2 separate regions of the Homo sapiens genome follow, and region 1 is linked to region 2. The links are contacts of gene promoters, found by promoter capture Hi-C in human tissues and cell types (Jung and others, 2019). All regions are on one chromosome and are shown on one strand. The core of a region is centred on a gene start or on the middle of the fragment in contact, and the rest is flanking DNA. Distances in the headings are between cores, read along the strand shown.

The links. Contacts are between HindIII fragments. The study calls those that stand out against the background at their distance.
Region 1: a fragment that was not itself captured here is called in contact with the fragment with the promoter of ZNF23 in region 2 in 2 of the 25 tissues and cell types used here (IMR-90 fibroblasts and dorsolateral prefrontal cortex).

What each region holds. Positions count from the first base shown.
Region 1 is chr16:70,778,926-70,781,625 of GRCh38, forward strand. It overlaps VAC14 (VAC14 component of PIKFYVE complex), which reads right to left. Exons shown (of 19, transcript NM_018052.5): 9 at 1,865-2,014. It overlaps TRG-GCC2-4 (tRNA-Gly (anticodon GCC) 2-4), which reads right to left and starts at 184; the gene lies at 114-184. The HindIII fragment of the contact is 5,357 bases long and covers 1-2,700 here.
Region 2 is chr16:71,460,883-71,463,582 of GRCh38, forward strand. ZNF23 (zinc finger protein 23) reads right to left here and starts at 1,365. Exons shown (of 5, transcript NM_001381984.1): 1 at 1,328-1,365. LOC124903709 (a long non-coding RNA gene) reads left to right here and starts at 1,430. Exons shown (of 2, transcript XR_007065105.1): 1 at 1,430-2,410. RefSeq lists enhancers at 964-1,053, 1,324-1,483. The HindIII fragment of the contact is 9,699 bases long and covers 1-2,700 here.

The DNA of each region.
Region 1 (2,700 bases), core at 33-2,532, 680 kb before region 2:
CTCCCAGTAAAAAAAGCTCCTCCCTTTGAAGGCCCGCACTAGCTTATCCCTCCAAGTTAACTTATTTCTCCAAGTTTTCTTTTTCCAGGAGCTGCCAAAAAGCTTTCAGCTGCTGCATTGGCCGGGAATCGAACCCGGGCCTCCCGCGTGGCAGGCGAGAATTCTACCACTGAACCACCAATGCTCCAGCTGAGTGCTGTTCTGCCTCCAGCTGTTTTGTTGCTCTGATTCACAGTGGTGATGGCACAGCTGTAACCTGACACCTGAGATGGGTCCAGCATGGACAGCTGCTGGATTTTACCAGCCAAACCTATGGGAGGAGGTGGGGCATGCATGCTTGACATTCTGCTCAGCTGTTCAAAAGAAAAGTCCATGAATGGCAATGGGAGAATGCTCAGCAATTCTTTTGGCTCCTGTGGGCAGGTTCCAGACCTTACTCTGTTATCCTTAAAGATCTGAGTAGGCTTAGTCTTCCCTATAAAAAATTTCTTGACAAATTAGCTGAAACTGTCATTCACTTGTTTCTCTTGTTTTATGGCCTTGTGGGTTATTCTACTGAATGCTGTGATTTCTTTTACCACTGGTTGATTTGTCTTGTTTTGCTGTCTTGCCTCCTTGACTAGACTGTAAGCCTCTGGAGCACAAGGACTTTGTCTGGTAAACACAGCTTGATGTATAACAGATGTTTGCTAAATGTTAGATTTGTAATAAATGGAATTTAACTAGAAAAAAAAATCTGAGTAGGTTATATCTCAGTTTACTCTGGCTGCTTCGGCAAAGGAGGACATCAACCCAAAGCTGATCAGTGACCTCTTGGTGAGGACAGAGACCCAAGAAATATGAAAGCATCAGGGTTCTAGATTACATCTGGAGTCAAATTCCAGATGCCAGTCGGCATAAATGTGGTTTCTTTTTTCTTTTTTTTTTGAGATAGGGTCTTTCTCTGTTGCCTAGGTTGGAATACAGTGGTGTGATCATAGCTCACTGCAACTTCTGCCTCCTGGGCTCCTGGGCTCAAGTGATCCTCCCGCTTCAGCTTCCTGAGGAGCTGGGACTATAGGTGTGCACCACCATATCTGGCTAATTTTTGTAATTTTTTTTTTTTTTTTTTTTTGGTAGAGATGGGGTTTTGCCATGTTGCCCAGGCTGGTCTCAAACTCCTGAGTTCATGCAGATTGCCTCAGACTCCCAAAGTGCTGGGATTACCCAGCCCGGCCATAAATGTGGTTTCTTATAATGCAGTTTTCTTTACCTTACAGCTAAACAAGAAAATTATGTTAGAGGAGTCTGAAAGGAGAGCAGAGCAACTTCACTTTTTAAAGGCACTTATTTGGGCAAGAGAATTTTCAAGTACAGAATAAATCGAAGCTAGAGCTTTCTTAACCCTCCCACCCTGAGAATGACCCGCATGGTAAAGGCAGCCAGGCTTCTTGGTGGCTGGACGTCTACGGCCAAGAATCAAGTGCCCCCTGAATCCTGGTACTCCTCCCATGCTCCAAACCTTCCTGCCCTGAAAACAACTCTTTCCCGTGAATCCAGGAAAAAGATGAAGGAAAGGCTTCATGGTCTTTGAGGCAGGAAGGGTTAAGATCATGGCTGCTGGAGACAGCCTGCCTGGGTTCCAATCCGGTTCCAGTCTTCACTAGCTGCGAGTGTGTGGCCATGGTACTCAGCTTCCCTGTGTCCTGTCTGCAGAATGGGGGAGAACCACTGCTGCCACTGCGCTGGGTTGCTGCTACAATTGTGTGAGTGACATACATAAAGTAGTCCTGGTTGCTTAAGTGAGGCCCCAAGGCAACTCCTATGACATCTGGCTCCCTGGGCCCCCGACAGGAGGTGAGGTGTAGGGACGGAGTCCACTCACCACTGGCTGTGCCCTCCTGCTTTGGCAGGGCATCGTCAGGGGTGGGCTCTGCCTGCCTCTGCCCAGGTCTCAGCTCATCCAGCTCGTCGTCCTCGGGGGTGACCAGCTTCATCAGGCTCTGGTTGCACACGTTGGCCACTTCTTTGATGCCTGAGTCCACTGATGTAAGGAGCGTGATCTGATTTGGATGCCTGTCTCTCTAAATCTCTTGCTGAAATGTGATTCCCAGTGTTGGAGGTGGGGCCTGGTGGGAGGGGTTTCGGTCATGGGGGTGGATCCCTCACAAATGGCTTGGTGCCCTCCCCATGGTACTGAGCGAGTTGAGTGAGTTCTTGCTCTATTATTATTCATGAGGGGGCTCGTTCTTTCAAAAAGCCTCCCACCTCTCTTGCTCCCTCTCTTGCCATGTGACCTGCTGGCTTCCTCTTTGCCTCTGCCATGACTAAAAGCTTCCTGAGGCCTCACCAGAAGCCAAGCAGATGCTGGCACCATGCCTCCTGTAGAGTCTGCAGAACCGGGAGCTGAAGCAACCTCTTTTCTTTATAAATTACCCAGCCTCAGGTATTCCTTTATAGCAACGCAAAATGGGTTAATATAGAGTGGTCCCAGCCAGGGGAGGCTTCTCTGAACCTCGTATTCCTAGTCTGGAGCTCAGTCGTCTCAGGGCTACGTTAGGCAGACAGGCTGTCCGAACTGAGCCCCTGCTCTCCTTGTCATACTGGTGCCCCTGTGAAATGCGCCTATTTCTTCTCTTAGGACCCCTTCCTAAACCCTCCCACCAACAGGATCTCCCCAGCCCAAGGTGGGGCAGTATGAACTCAGAGGGTTGGAACTTT
Region 2 (2,700 bases), core at 115-2,614:
ACTGAAAACAACCCACATGTCCATTGAAAATACATCGATAAATTTTCATACAGTTTTTACAATGGAACATTACCCAGAAGCTACACACAGAATGAATTTGGAAACTTAACATTGAATTATGCGAGTCCCAGATGACTTATACACACAATGGTGCCATTTATATGAAGCTCAAAAAAAAAATTTAAGTACATTGCTTACAGATACATGCATATGTAATTATTTTTTAAAATAACAGGGCTACAATTAACACAAAAGTCAATATAACTGTTACCTCTAGGGGTTGGAGGCTGGGAGTTGGGTTGAGGAGGAGGAACACATTGATAAATTCAGCAGTACTGGCAATCTTCTCTTTCTTAATTGGGTGGTGTGTTCATGGATGTTTACTACTATATATGTAACATATAAATATATATTTTAAATAAATATATAAACCAGCAAGGATGGGGTGAAATTGAGGACCCAAAATGTAATACAAAGAACAGCCAATGTGCTTAACTATACTACAGTGAACATAACCACACTTAAGTGGTAGGAAAGAAAAGGGGTAAGCAACTTTGGAAAACAGTATTTTGACTAAATACCATAAGAGTAAAGACAAAAAGACCTGTATCCAAGTACTGTACTTTAGGTAGTAAATTTGCTTTTCATGGGGGTATGAATTAGCGATTCTGAGACTACTAAATATATTCTAAAACTGAGTGAATTCGTAATTACGTTGTAGAAGTCATTCCCAGGTCACTGTCAACCCTGAGCCGAGAGAAGCAGGGCTGAGTTACCTTTTGGGACTGACACTGCTCCAGGAGACAATGTCCTCCAAAAGCCGGGCTGCTTCTGCTGCCGGGTGACTGGGAGGGGCTCTGCGCTCCCACTCGGCCCTAATTCATGACCCTATGTCAGGAGCCTGGGAGCACACGGTCCATACTCGGGATGCACATAGGTTAATGTTCCTGCCAGACCTCAGCATGTCAAAAGACTTGTGGTATCACCTCGGGCCGCTTCACGCCCGCAAATATTCCATCTTTTAGCTGCACCGACACATCTTCCCCCGTCGACCAAGTGCTAAATGCTCAGGGCCTCGTGGCTGGGACAGCAACGTGCGTTTCCCCTTCCAATGGGCGCAAGCTATTGAGCCACAAAGACCAAAGCTGGAGTCGAGGAGCGCGGAAGAGCACCCCGGGCCGCCGCCCTGCTCCCTCTCCCAGCCTGGGCCTCCTGGCAGCGTAGGCCACGGGAGACCCTGCAGCACCCAGGGTGGGAGTGCGTCTCAACCGGACCCAGAGCCTGGGGGACAGGGCACGGCACACAGCGCCCGGAGCCCTGCACTCACCTCCGTAGCGGACTGCTCCCCGGCGCTGCCGGAAGTGCGTCACCAGGCGGCCGGGCCTCTCTAGGAGCAAGGTCGCTGCGCCTCGGTGGTGGTCACGCCCGGCCAGCTGTGGCCGCATCCCTGTCGGCTAGCTCGGGTCTGGCCCACGGTGACTGTTACCCCTGGGGAATGGGGCAGGTAAGAATCAGAGCCAAGCGGGGACCCAGCCCGGGGAGGTGAAGCTGCAGGTGCAGCCACGTGTGGGAGTCTTGGAAATGGACCAGTGGATGGCGCGCTGTCACACCCAATGCCCCCTTTTTCTAACAAATAGTTTGTAATGTCCATCTTATTCTCCTGACCTGATATTCATATATAATGGCCTAGAAAATCATACATAACATACACACCTACATATTAAAAACTAATGTTATGCCTTAAGTGTAATGAAAGAGAAAAAAAAGAGGACCGTCATCTGTCGTTTAAAAACACATACTTCAATGTGTTTGGTCTTGGCTGCTGCAGGAGACCTAATAAGGTGGTCGCCTTTACACATAGACGTTGTCTGAGTGCCACAGCCACAAAGCTGTGACTTACATTGTTGCAAAAGTCACAAAATTATGATCCAAAATGGCAAACATGTTTTCGTGAAGTTCTGAATGAAACACAGGACAATCGTCTCTTGATTATACAATAATTACATTCCTGGAAGATCAGTGTATGTTAAAACTGTGCAAAAATACATGTTTATCCAGAAAACAGGTTTAGATTCAGATAATTTAGAAATAGAATTTTCACCTACCTGAATGTTCAGCAAGACATTTGAAAGTGTGAACATTTTTTCAGTGGGCAGGACTGTCCTGTACATTGCAGGATCCTGGCTCCTATCCACAACGCTAGTAGCAATGTTACCACTGACACCAAATATAACAAAATACCTACCATAAAATTCCAAAATGAGCCCTGGGGGAAGGGAGACAGTACTAAATGCCACTGGATTGGACGACCCTTAAAATCCCCACCCCCTCACACACCCCCTAACCCTGGTAATGTGGGCTTTTCTTCCTTCCAGCTCTGATCCATCCAACGCTGCTGCACTGGAGACTGGTATTTGGCTCCCACTTGCCTCTGTGGCTTCTTATCACTCCCATTCATTCCCTGACTCTACCTCAGCCCTACATGCTAAAAATGCTGTTCTCTAAATCTAGAATGCCCTTCCCTTCCCATTCCTACCCTCCATCTTGACTGTTACTGGAAGTGTGAGCTCAAATCCCATTTTGCATGGGAAGCAAGCCTTCCCTCATCACCCAGAATAAGGCAGGACACTCATTTATGTGCCATCACAGCACTGTGTACTTACTTAATGGTGATAGTTTATTTATATGTCTGTCTTCTCT